Linked DNA regions of Homo sapiens: region 1 is linked to region 2. Evidence: promoter capture Hi-C in human tissues and cell types (Jung and others, 2019). All regions are on one chromosome and are shown on one strand. Each heading gives the region's core, a stretch centred on a gene start or on the middle of the fragment in contact. The rest is flanking DNA. Distances are from core to core; before and after follow the strand shown. Region 1 overlaps R3HCC1L (R3H domain and coiled-coil containing 1 like). Region 2 holds the start of HPS1 (HPS1 biogenesis of lysosomal organelles complex 3 subunit 1).

Region 1 (6,778 bases), core at 2,387-4,886, 260 kb after region 2:
GTTGTGCACATGTACTGTAGAACTTAAAGTATAATAATAAAAAAGTCCATAAAATACTTACCCTTAATATATGCACTACTATTACTTTTAATCTAGAATTCTTCTTCACTTTTTACAATTTAAGGCTTTTAAAATTCTTACAATTTAAGATCTATTTATTCACTAAGTTGATTTCACTTGAATAAAAGTTTTGAAATACTATTCTAAACAGCATATTCAATGTCAGAAAAGTATACAACAGGCATAGAAAATATTTTCTGTTTCAAATAATTTGTAATTCTGGTTGTAGAGCAAGGTAAAAGAGAAAACATGAGTAAAAAATTGGAAGATTCTTTGACAGAATAAAATTAGAATAATAAAATAATAAAATAAAAAATATACCCAATCCTTTCCACACTTTCAAGGTCTTCCCACTTTCAATGTCAATCACAAGTACAGTACAACTGGCCCTCCATATCCATGGGTCTATGGATTCAACCAACCCAGAGATGGAAATATTCAGTTAAAAAAATTGTGTCTGTACTGAACATGCACAGATTTTCCTCGTTATTATTCCCTAACAATGAAGTCTAACAAATATTTACCTAGCATTTATATTGTATTAGGTATAAGTAATCTAGAGATGATATAAAGTAAAAAGGAGGATGTACATAGGTTATATACAAATACTGCCGTTTTATATCAGAGACTTGAACATCCTCAAATTGTGGTATCCAAGGAAAGTCTTGGAACCAATTCTCCAGGGATACTAAGGGTCAACTGCATTTGCAAATAAGAAATCAAGAAATGTCCTTCTCCTGCACAGGCGCTTCACTTAAAAGAGATTCAACACAAACACAGCACAGAGGCACTTGTGTGTGATATAATAACATAAAAAATTATACTTGGACAGCAGAGAAATGGCTTCATATTTTAAAAACTATAAAATCTGCTAATGAACCACAACTGATTCTGCTGTAGTTTTCTTAATGCATCCTTCCGTAAATGCACTTGCACTAGTTATTATAATACAATGATATATTTCACACTTGAAAACACAAAATAATTCCTGTATCTGCTTGGAGATTCATTTTTACTTCTATTCAAACCAGGTTATACAAAATATATATTACAATTTAAAAGAATAAGACAATAATTTCTAAAATTAAAGTCTATAGTGAAAGAAATTACTCTATAGGTCTTCTCTTTAACATATCTGAACTAAAGAGAAATAAGCTTTTAACCCAGGTAGACACTCACTGAGAGACCTTACATAGATAGACCTTACTAAAAGGCATGCAAGAAACAGAATCACTAGTAAAAAGCAGAATGAGAAGTCAAACAGTTCTGTTCAAACTGCCAAACTGCGCCATGTATAAGGTGATGCCTCAAGGCCTTCTTCATTGTGAAATGCTGTCCTCACCCCATATGCAATGCACAGCTGTACTACAACCTCCAGATCACTATTTTTTGTTTTAGTAGAGTACCTGATTTTTATTGTTTCTTTCTCTTCACCATCTGTCACTTATTGCTACTCTAGGCATTTCTATTTCTCTCAACCTAAAGGGCAATGCAAATTCCAGAGTGTCCAAATTACATACAAAGTAACAATAAAAGCCCTCTAAGTAAGGATCTGAGGTGCTTCCTAATTGAGCAAAATATATGAACTTCAATACATGAACTTTATATTTATTTTGGCCACTTATCAGATCTTATTTGCTCACCTGACAACTCACTTGACTATTTTATGTTCAAAATAGTAACATTTCATTTGATTCTCCCAACAACCCTATGAAGTAGAATTATTACTAGTCCAATTCTACCAATGATAAAACCGAGGCAACAAGGGTGTTAAATTGTGTCCACCAAGGCCAAAGGACTAGAATATGGCAGAGGATTATCTAGATCCTAATCTAGATACTCTGAGACCAATGTCTGTGCTCATAAATGCCTATGGCAATATGACTATATCAGTGTGGTTAGTACTCCCCACTTAAATATCTTTAACAATCTTATAGGAAAAAATACATAAATAACTATATCAATTACTTAATGTTAGGAGATGAGAAGCCCCAATTGCCTTCTTTAACCTCTCCAAAAGCTACTCTGAAAGACATAACTGAGGCACAGAAATGAAAAGCCAAAGGAACACCAGTTCAACAAAGCTGATAAGGAAGTTTTCTACAGTCTAGCCTTATTTAGCATTACACTGAGCCTATCCTATAATGGATCCAAACACAGGAGTCTCCATTGCCATTTGAAGACTTACTTGTCAAGGATGACTTAGGGCTGTTCCTTTTGAGATGTAGTTCTAAATGATCTCTGAATGCCTACTGAATACTTGTATATTTTAGCTTTCAATAAATATTCCTTGAGTAAATGCGGGCTGGGTATTCTGCGCTCTCTACTGCCATACCAAACTGTAAGCTTGTCTGACTAACAATCATACCTACAACTCCTTGAAAGCAAGAAATACCTTATCATTTTTAGTTTCTCAATACCCAGCACCATTCCTGGCACATACAGCATTCAATAAGATGTTTGTTAAATAAATGAGCACAAAAGCAAATGTGCCTGGCACAAAGCAGTATCAATTCAGATGTTTCTCCTTAATTTGAGATTGTGTGTGTGTGTGTGTAAAAGGTATGTGTATTCTTGAACAACATTAAGAATTCCTTTGGCCAAGTATAATGGGTCCTGCCTATAACCCCAGGACTTCTGGGAGGCCAAGATGGGAGGATCACTTAAGTCCAGGAGTTCGAGACCAGCCTAGGCAACATAGCGAGACTCTATATGTACAAAAAAAAATTGTTTTTTAATTAGCTGGGCATGGTGGTGCACATCTGTAGCCCTACCTACTTAGGAGGCTGAGGTAGGAGGATCACCTAAGCCCAGGAGTTTGAGGTTACAGTGAACTAAGACCAGACCAATGCACTCCATCCTGGAGAACAGAACAAGACCTTATCTCTTAAAAAAAAAAAAAAAAAAAAAAGAATTGTTACATCTTATCTGTTTGACTCAACTCACTAGCTATTTTCCTACTAAAGCAAACCTTTCTCAATTTGTATATATGATACATATCTATTTATAGAAAGAGACCTTATGTGCAAACTAATGATAACAGCAAAATTAAACCGGAGCCAGACTTAAGCTCCCCATCCAAAAAACCTACTTCATTCTTGTAAACCATAATTTCCTGCCACCATCAAAGAATTGATACTCTGTATTTTTACATTACTAGCCCTTTTTACAGATGGGAAATATGTAAACATAATCCAATTATGAGAAATGATTAAGAGACCTATGATTATGACTGTTTCTTAGATTATAAAAACCTTACATGGCTGATATGCCCTAATGTGAAAATCTGCAATCCAAAATGCTCCAAAGTCCAAAACATTCTGAGCACCGACATGACACTCAAAGGAAATGAACACTGGAGCATTTCAGATTTCAGATTTTCAGGTTAGGGATTCTCAACTGTTAAATATAATGCAAATATTCAAAAAAAAAAATCAAAATCAAAAACACTTCTGGTCCCAAGCAGTCCAGATAAGGGCTACTCAATCTGTAGTATGTTGGATTTAACAAACTGTACATGGCAATATAATTTAAACTTGTACCCTACCAAATAAGTCAATGAATGAAGCACTGGGTTAAGTGCTTGTATACATCATCTCACTTAACCTTTGTAACAACTCTTCAAGGTGTATATAATTATTATCACCATTTTACAGACAAATAAATGAAGACTCAAGGTTGTACATCTGTACTTACTAAGTACAGAAACCAGAATGCACACCCAGCTTTGACTAATACCTGAGCTATTTAGCTACTCACAACTCTATCCCACAGTACACCCCCAAAAAAGCAAAAAATTTCTAAATCATGACTGCCTAACTCTAACATTGTAATAATACACCATACTTGCTTTTAACTACATCATTCTGAGAAGGAAAACTGATGGCCTTCATAAGCTTCACGCCTACTTTCCCACCTTAAGCACTGAAATCTTGAATCATATGAGAGCTGTTTATCACTAACATCCTTTTTCTGAAAACTATACTTTGCCCCTCCACTGCCATGAAAAACATTATTGGCACCCACAGCAATGTTGTGTATAAAACTTGTCACAACTGTTAGTGGCAATGGTCACTACCTTAGGTGACTCTGGAGTCTCAGAAGACTTGAACACTCTAATGTAAGTTCTAAAGGTTTATGTAAGATCCACCACACCAAATGCTGAGTAAAACCATCTGGAAAAAACAAGGAAATTATATGATTAAATATAGTTAAATGTCTCTCTACATGGAACAGCTATTTGAGAAGATCAATTGTATGCTATTTTTGTTCCAAAAGAGCAAGGTTTGCAGATTTTTTGTTTATATACCAATAAGCCAAACATCAAAACCGAAGGAACCAAACTGTCCTGTTTTTCTCAACACTCAAAGACAATCAGGCAAGAGAAGTTCATTTACCATGACTTACATATTACTTAGATATTTTTTCCTTTTCTCTTTTTCTGACTTACCTCCACGGCCTCAATGAATTTTGGGCCATACATAAACGATAATTATGAAAGTAAACCAAGGGTCCTTTCTTCTACTCTCCCTCTGGAAAGAAGGAAGGAAACTTGGAGGTTCTACAGAAACATACCAAGATTTTTACTGGATACATCCCAAGTCTTCCCTCTTCCTCACTCTCTGTATTCAACCAATGGAAAAGTTCCACTGATCTTCACATTTGAGTATCTCTTTAATTTGCCTGGTTGTCCCTATCTCTAATGCTACTACTCCAAGTTAAAACAACACATACAAATGCCTGGATTACTGAGGTAACCTATCTAACTAGTCTTGGTAACTGCTTTGCTTCTTTGCATTCACTCTTCACCTTCCATCCAAAATGACTTTTTCAAAACCATTAGCTAGTCAGATGTCACCCTCCCTAAAGTCTTTCAATGACTTGCCACTGTTTTCATGATAAAATCAACTTAACATGGCTTAGAAGACTCTTCTTTCTAACCTGGCTCCAACCAATTTCTCCAGTCTTACCTTCTGTCACTTCTGTCTTCATATGCTTTATAGCCACATGGCTCTTCTTTCAGATTCTCAAACTCTTCATGTTGGTTCTGTGGGTTTGTTTGTTTTCCATCTTAGCTACTGGATAATCTCTTCCTTCTACCTACTCTACTTCCCTACAGCCTCCCAGCCATCTTTAACCTAATTCCTACATAATCTTTAGGTCTGCATCACAGTTCTTTCTCTGAGAAGCCTTACCTAATCATTCTAGATAAGACTGGGTGCCTCCTTCCATATACATCTCCTACTACAGCTCTTATCATTACTTTAGTATAATTACCTCTTTAATTATCCGGTCTTCCCCATTAAACTATATGCTCATTAGAGAAAGTATTATTAAGGGTACTTGCTCATCCCTATATCCCCCAACACTGAGCACAGGGCCTAGACACATAGCACAGACTTGACTTTTTTATATTGAATAAATGAACAAACAAAAATACAAATTTGGAGGAAAAAACTGAAAGGAACAGATTTAAAAGATACTTTAACCATCAAAAATCCCGTATCAATAGACATCCTCAATAAAGAAATGGGACTTCTAGGTGCTGCTTAGGATGAAGAAAGTTAGAAAGTCATTTTCACCATTAAAACAAAGTAAAAGATGGATGTTGTGCAAAATCACAAATTTTCTTGAACCCAGCACAAAAGTAAGGTAACCTTAAATCTAAGTAATTGATCTAAAATCTAAGGAAAGACAGGATTTTAAAGGGAGAGATGGGACATGAGCACTACTTTACCTATAGTAAACACCAGACACCATACAAGCCAATAAGAACTTGGTTAAAAAATTTTGTAATTACTACAAGCCAAATGTGGACCTGCAGCTAGGGGAAGCAAACAAAATCTACCCTGCTTAAAGAAGGGGCAAGATCTCTGAAAAAGCCCCATACTTGAGACCCAGAGAAAATGGAAACACCTAGCTAAAATGGAGACTGGAAAAATCCAACACAAAATGTCCTCCCCATCTCCCATCAAATGCAGGCTAGCAAGCCTCAAACAACATGTAACAGCAATGTACTACAGTCATGTGTCACGTAATGACAGGAATATGGTCTAAGAAATGCATTGTCAGGTGATTTCATTGTGAGAACATGACAGAGTATACTTACACAGACAAAGACAGTATAGCCTGTTACACACCTAGGCTATACAGTATGGTATATTATTGGTCTTAGGCTACAAACCTGTACAGCATGTTACTGTACTGAATACTGTAGGCAACTGTAACACAATGGTAAGTATTTTGTTTATCTAAACATAGAAAGGTACAGTTAAAATATGGTATTATAATCTTAGGGGACCATCATCATATATGCAGTCTGCTGTTGACCAAAACATTGTTATGTGGCGCATGACTGTTTGTGAGCAAAGAGCTAAAGCATGGAGAAATACCTTCTCTGAGATGCAAGTTCAAAGGGAAGACCTAAAGCTGAGGGTAGACATTAAGAAAAACTCTCTGACAAACTAAATCCTACCCTAAACACAAAGTAATGCTAGAGAAACTTTAAGCCTGTGGTAAATTAAAGGTAACCTAGCAATAACAAAACCCTCAACATTCCTCCCCACCACACACACACACACACGTCTCAGGAAAAGACAAAGCATGTCCATTTCCAGGCATAAATACCATTTAACTGGCTCTCTACACAAAATGTCCAGATTTCAACCAAAAAAAAAAAAAAACCGAAAAAGGAGCAAAGAAAAAAAAACAAAACAAT
Region 2 (6,864 bases), core at 3,285-5,784:
TACAATTAACATTTTATCTAAATGATATATGGAGAACATTACAACAACAAATGAATAAAGTCCTTTTTCAACAACACATCGAAATATTTATAAAACGTGGTTATATACTGTGACATAAAGTTTCAAAAAACTTCAAAGAATAATAACATACAATGTATTTCTGACAGCAGTGGAATATAAGTGGAAATTATAGATAGATGATAGATAGATAGATAGATAGATAGATAGATAGATAGATAGAGAGATAGAAAACTAGAAAATCTCCCTGTGCTTGAAAATTAAGAAACACACTTCTTAATATTCCATGAGAAAAAAATCAGAAATCACAATAAAAAGAAAATATTTTAAACTAAATGGAAAAGACTACATATAAAAATATGCAGAAAGAACTTCCAATTTCTGGTAATGTTACAGTTGTATCAGACTGACCCTTTTGCCAATAACAATTACGAACCTTAGACAAAATTTGAAAAAACAATTCTTTGAAGGCAATGCAGAACAGCTAAGAGCAGGCAGAAACTGCAGGAGATATAGCTCTTGAATGAAGAAAATCACACTGGGTGATATCCACATTTATTTGGCTTTTCTCCTGAAGGAATTCCCCTAGTTCACAACAAAGAGCAAGGTCCATCAGCAAGCAGCTATTATATTAGACCGTGGAGTGACATTGGTGTTCAAGACTGCCAGAGCAGCTGAAAATTGAATGGAGAGGGAAAGGGAACAGGTGGGAGAAACTTAAAAAGCTGGTACAAAGTACACTCAAATATCTGGCTGACCTCTGAACTATACTCTAAATAAATCAAAAGAAAAATTAGCATTTTAAAGTAATTGAAAATGAAAACATGGCAGATAAAAAGTTGTGGGATGCTGATAAAGCAGGACCTTGGGGAAGATCTACAGCACTCAACTCCATTAGAAAAGACAAAAGGTCTCAAATCAGTGGCCTCTGTTTCTAGAAGAAAAAAAAACCCAAAGTAAACAGAAGACACGAAATAGTAACTATCAGAACAGAAACTGATGAATTTAAAAACAGGATCAATAAAAATTGATTCAACCAAAAACTGCCTCTAAGAAAATCAATAAACTCCTTTTAAATTTATTGAACATAGACTCCAAAAATAGATTCACACACAGATGGTCAACTGATTTGAGACAACGTGCCATGATAATTAATCCAATGGAGAAAAGATTGATTGATTTATTTATTTGAGATGGAGTTTCACTCCTGTTGCCCAAGCCGGAGTGCAATGGCACGATCTTGGCTCACTGCAACCTCTGCCTCCTGGGTTCAAGCGATTCTCCTGCCTCAGCCTCCTGAGTAGCTGGGATTACAGGTGCATGCCACCACGCCCAGCTAATTTATTTTTTTGTATTTTTACTAGAAATGGGGTTTCACCATGTTGGCCAGGCTAGTCTCCAATTCCTGACCTCAGATGATCTGCCCTCCTGAGCCTCCCAAAGTGCTGGGATTACAGGCATGAGCCACCACGCCTGGCTGAGAAAATATTTTTTTTCAACAAATGGTTCTAGAAAAATTGGACATCTATATACAAAACACACACACACACACACACACACACACACACAAAAGACTAAAACCTCAACCTTCTTTCACATCACACACAAAAATTAACTCAAAATGGATTGTGAACCTAAAGACAAAATCTACGACTATTAAATTTCTGCAAAAAAGAAAAAACAGGAGAAAATCTCTGTGACCCTGGCTAAGCAGAGACTTTACATAGGACACAAAATGCACAAAGATTTCTGCTCTTCAAAAGTCACTGTAAAGAAAATGAAAAGACAAAGCCACAGACTGGGAAAAAAAAATATAATAAAGGGCTTGAATTCAAACACATAAATAAATAATAAGACAAACAATCCAATTTTTAAATAGGCAAAATTTGAACACTTAACATACTACCACATACCTACTAGAATGGCTAAAGTTAAAATAGGACAATATCAAGTGCTAACAAGACTACAGAGCAATTACACCTCTCAGTGTTGCTAGAAGGAATGTAAAATGGTACATCCACTTTGGAAAATGGTTCAGCAGTTTAATATAAATTTAAACACAGACTTACCATACAGCCCAGCAATCCCATGAGTAGATATTTACCTAAGAGAAATATAAACTTATGTTGAACTACCTCACACCCATTAGGATGGCTACTATAAAAATTTTAAAGAAAATAGAAAATAGCAAGTGTTGACAAAGATGTGGGTAAACTGGAACACTTGTTCCAGGTTGGGAATGTAAAATGATGCAGCTGCTGTGGAAAACAGTATGGTAGTTCCTTAAAAAATTAAAAATAGAATTACCATATGATCTAGCAGTTTCTCTTCTGGGTATATGCCCAAAAGAATTGAAAGCAGAGTCTCAAAGAGATATTTGTACACTCATGTTCATAATGGCCTTATTCACAATGGATGTAACCCAATTGTCCATCAGCAGATAAATGGATAAGCAAAATGTAGTATATACAGACTATAGAGTATTATTTAGGCTTAAAAATAAAGAAAAAAGGAAGGAATTCTCACATATGCTACAACATGAATGCACCTTGAGAATATTATGCTAAGTGAAATAAGCCAGTCATAAAAAGACAAATACTGTATGATTCTACTTATATGAGGTACTTAGAGTAGTCAAATTCATAGAGACAGAAAGTAACATTGTGGTTGCTATGAGGAGGAATGAAGAATTGTTGTTGTTGTTGTTTTTGTTGTTGTTTTTGAGATGGGAGTCTCGCTCCGTTGCCCAGGCTGGAGTGCAGTGGCATGATCTTGGCTCACTGCAACCTCTGCCTCCTTGGTACCAGCAATTCTCCTGACTCAGCCTCCTGAGTCACTGGGACTACAGCTGTGTGCCACCACACCCTGCTAATTTTGTATTTTTAGTAGAGACAGGGTTTCACCATGTTGGCTAGGGTGACCTCAAACTCCTGACTTTGTGATCCGCCCGCCTTGACCTCCCAAAGTGTTGGGATTACAGGTGTGAGCCACCACACCCGGCCAGCATTATTGCTTAATGGATATAGTTTCAGTTTTAAAAGATGAAAAGAGCTGTGGAGATGGATGGTGGTGATGGCTGCATAGCATTAGGAATGTAGTTAATACCACTGAACAATACACTTAAAATGCTTAATGATCAATTTTACATTATATGTATTTTACCACAAACAAATTTGAAAAAAAGAAACATGTTGACACAAAAAACCCGTACATAACTAAAAAATAGATTATATTGGATTACATAAAAATGTAAAACTTTGGTGCTACAAATGATACCACTAAGAAAGTGAAAAGACAAGCCACATAATGGGAAAAAAACTTTTGCAAATCAAGTATCTGATAAGGGGCTTGTAACCAGAGCATATAAAGAACTCTTACAACTCAATAATAAAGACAATTTAAAAATGGATAAAGGATTTGAATAGACATTTCTCCAGAGAAGGTACACAAATAGGCAAAAAGCACATGAAAAGATGCCGAACGTCAGGGAAGTGCAAATAAAATCACAAGACACCACTCCACGCTGGGTTACTATACTTAAAAAAAAAAAAATCAACAATAACAAGCATTGGTGAGGATGTGGAGAAATCAGAATCCTCATACATTGCAGTTGGGAAATGGAAATTACCAGTAGGGGAATGAATAAGTAAATAACAGCATATCCATTTGATGGAATTCATTCGACCACTGAAAGCATAGTGAGTGAACGATCTCAACGGTGGGCTGAGCAAAGAGATGCGTGTGGCAGGGCTATGTGCTGTAGATGGGGAGTTGGAAGAATTTGCCCTAAGGTGGGCTGGAAGGGGTGGGTAGTGGGTTGGGGGGAGTGATGCTCTCTTTGATCTGCAGGTGGTGGAAGTATTGATTCTTAGCCTCTGCCTTTCCCCCAAGAGATGCTCAATCTACTATATCCCCAGCCAGTTCTTGCAACCCATACCTTGCTGGGCTGGGCTCAAAGCTCCCAGGTGGCACCCAGGCACTGAGGGGTGGACTGTTCGGGGATTTAGGCCCTTCCAGAGCGCCCCCTCCACTTCCAGGCACCCCCAATACACATACGATTTTTTAAAATAAATATTGCAAACATAGGTTCAACACAAAACTCCTAATGTGCACTCCACTCCCAAAATAGATTGAGAACTCCTATAAATTCCAGCGTTGGCACTCTGGGGGCAACTGAGCCCTTCTGTGCGCTATGTCACCTCCCCAAAGGTCAGGGAGAGCAGTCACAAAAGGACAGCTCTAGCCCCAGAACTTCAGTTCATTAGGCAAAGCCTGAGGTTCCGGGGCATGGGGAGGAGAGAAGGGATCAGCTGAGGAGCCAGGAAACCTGGGTTCTGAGCCTGGTTCGGACCCTCAGCAAGTTATTTCTTCTCTCTGCGCCTCCGTTTCCTCTTCTGTAAAATGGGGCATGGGCAAGGCCTGGCAGGGGCGGGGCTCGAACCCGCGGAAGGCGACGGCGGCTCCGGCCCCTCCCGGGGCGGGCGGTCACGTGCGCGATCACGCGGTCCTACCCGGAAGCGCGCCCGGGCTCCTGCAGGCGGGGCGCTGTGCGCGCCGCGATCCGGTACGTGGGCCTCCGGGCTGTCCCCTCTGGGGGCGGCGATCCTCCCTCCGGAGCCCCCCTTCAACCCTCCCGGAAGTGAGGTAGGGTCCCTAGGGGTCCCGGAGCGGGCCCACTCCTAGCCTCACCCACTCCGGGCGTGTGGCCGTGGGCCGGTCGCTTCCTCGCTCGGGGCCAAAGTTCCTCAGCCGTGAAGAGGGGTGGATGTCACAAGTCAAGCCTCCTTCCCAGGGTGGCCGTGAGGTTCGGGGGTGGGGGGAGGTGGGGATTTGGGGTGAAACTGGACAGAAACTGGCGTGCTAGGCAAACGGGAGCCCCGCGGCGGCGAACTGCTGACTCGCTCTCTCCAGAGACTCAGGGGCAGGGCCGGGCTCCGAAGGTGTGGGACCCCAGAAGGAGCTGCTGAAGACGGGACCAAGGGCCACAGGGAGGTTTGCTGGGGTCCAGATGGTGAAAGTGGGCGCTGGGGGTCGCCCCAGGTTGGCCCCCCGCCATCTGGAGCTCCTTTCGTCAGTGAGTCCCCTCCGAGTTCCCTTTCTAGGGCAAGATAGCGAGGTGAAGCGGAAGTCTCAGTGTGACACCGGCGAGGTTCTCTTCCCAGCAGCCTTTGGGAAGCATCCCCCTGTTTCGGGAATATGGCATTCGGGCCAATCATGTGGGTGATGGAGCCCGTCTCAGGGTTCGGCTGCTAAAGGCCGAACTCGTAACAGCAGTCTCTGTGGCGGGTAGTCACTTGCCTCTTACTGGCTCACAGTGCTTGACTTCCTAATTAAGTTTTCTGTTGTTCCTGCCCTCTATTCAAATATGAATGATTCCGGAACCAGATTGATTAATCCTGTTATTTGAAGAAGGGAAGCTGGGAAATAGGAATAATGATCCCCACACCTATGTAAGAACGCAGTTTGCTAAGGTTACTTTGCAGCTTGCCTGGTCACTCCCATGATCTAACCCTGTAGGGAGGTAGAGTAGGGGATGTTGCTCTGTTTCTCCGCAGGAGTTTGAGGCTCAGAGAGGTTTATGGGACTTGGCAAAGCCAAAACTAGAACCTGGTCCCAGATGCCTTTCCTGTTAGTTTCCTTCCATTCATCGTATCATCCCAGGATCCCCACTCCCTTCACCGGGACTGCATCCTCACCACCTGGGATGTGCTATGCTGTCTCCCGTCAGTCACTCCTAGCAAGCTCCCTGGGGCTGCTTGGGGAGCTCTGAGTGACCCGCAGAAGTGAGAGCACTTCATGGGAACAAAGGAGGAAGGAACAAAAGTGGGCACCTGCTCTGTGCAAAGGGCTGTGCTGGCCGGGTTCCTATTCTCCATTATGGGAGGTGAGGGGCAGGATCCCAGATATGTTCTTAGCAGACTGCCTCAGGGCCTGGAGAGACCAGGGACCACGCAGCCCTTCTCCAGCTTGTCCTTTCTCAACGGGCAGCAGTCAAGACCAGGGCATCTGCCTGCCCTCATATTCTCTCTGTTTTAAGCATTTGCAGGACCAGGGATGCTGTGCTGCTCTCCCATGAGCCAGTCACCGAGTCGGTCTGCTGCAGCCCTTTCTGAACCTCTGGCCGTCTGGATGCTCCACTGTGCTTGCCAAGGTAGATGATCTTGCCCCACCTGGGGAGGACAGGGAGGCAGGCAGCATCCACCCTGGGGCTTTGGGAGGCAGATGGAATGAGGTAGGCAGTGGACTGAGTGCTACTGGGCTCTGCACACCTGCTCATCCCCTCCCCAGCCCTGCATCCTGAGGCCACCCCCATCCTGATGCCTCATCTCTCCTTCACCCCTCGAATCCAGGCAGGTCATCACAGCCTGCTGCATCTTTAAAGCTCCTCCCAGCCCCCACCAAGGGGTGAGCACTCATTACCTGACACCCGCACCTAGATGACCGCCTTCATGACCTTGACCTGCCCATCTCCAGCCAGCCGGTCACTTCTCCGCTCACAACCACAGCCTCCATTCCATAGCCCACTGCTCCCTAACCCATACACTCTGGTCAGCTTTGTCACATGTACCTGGGAGTCCCAGAGCAGCCTCTTCAGGTCCACCCGCCTCTCCCAGCAACCTCCTTTTCACACCTGTTGCACTCTCAGTGTCTGCCTTGGCATTGAGTAATTCTGTGGGAATAGGCTGCATTCCTTCTTCACTGTGCTGTTATGTCTCCTGGCATTTGCCATAAATACCTTGGGACCAGTTGCACCAAGTTAGTTTGGGAGGAATTCAGTAAGGACCACTAAGCTGGACATGGGGATGACGGAACACAAGACCTGGAGATGCTGTGATCCTCCCAAGA

What was found. Contacts are between HindIII fragments. The study calls those that stand out against the background at their distance.
Region 1: a contact is called between a fragment that was not itself captured here and the fragment with the promoter of HPS1 in region 2, in 1 of the 25 tissues and cell types used here (aorta).

The regions. Positions count from the first base shown.
Region 1 is chr10:98,183,924-98,190,701 of GRCh38, reverse strand. All of the region lies in intron 4 of R3HCC1L (R3H domain and coiled-coil containing 1 like), which reads right to left. Among named protein-coding and RNA genes, the nearest start is that of R3HCC1L, 53 kb to the right of the region's middle. The HindIII fragment of the contact is 3,649 bases long and covers 1,812-5,460 here.
Region 2 is chr10:98,444,605-98,451,468 of GRCh38, reverse strand. HPS1 (HPS1 biogenesis of lysosomal organelles complex 3 subunit 1) reads left to right here and starts at 4,534. Exons shown (of 20, transcript NM_000195.5): 1 at 4,534-4,662; 2 at 6,065-6,169. It overlaps HPS1-AS1 (HPS1 antisense RNA 1), which reads right to left and starts at 5,148. Exons shown (of 3, transcript NR_134454.1): 1 at 4,712-5,148. RefSeq lists a silencer at 4,367-4,716. The HindIII fragment of the contact is 14,922 bases long and covers 1-6,864 here.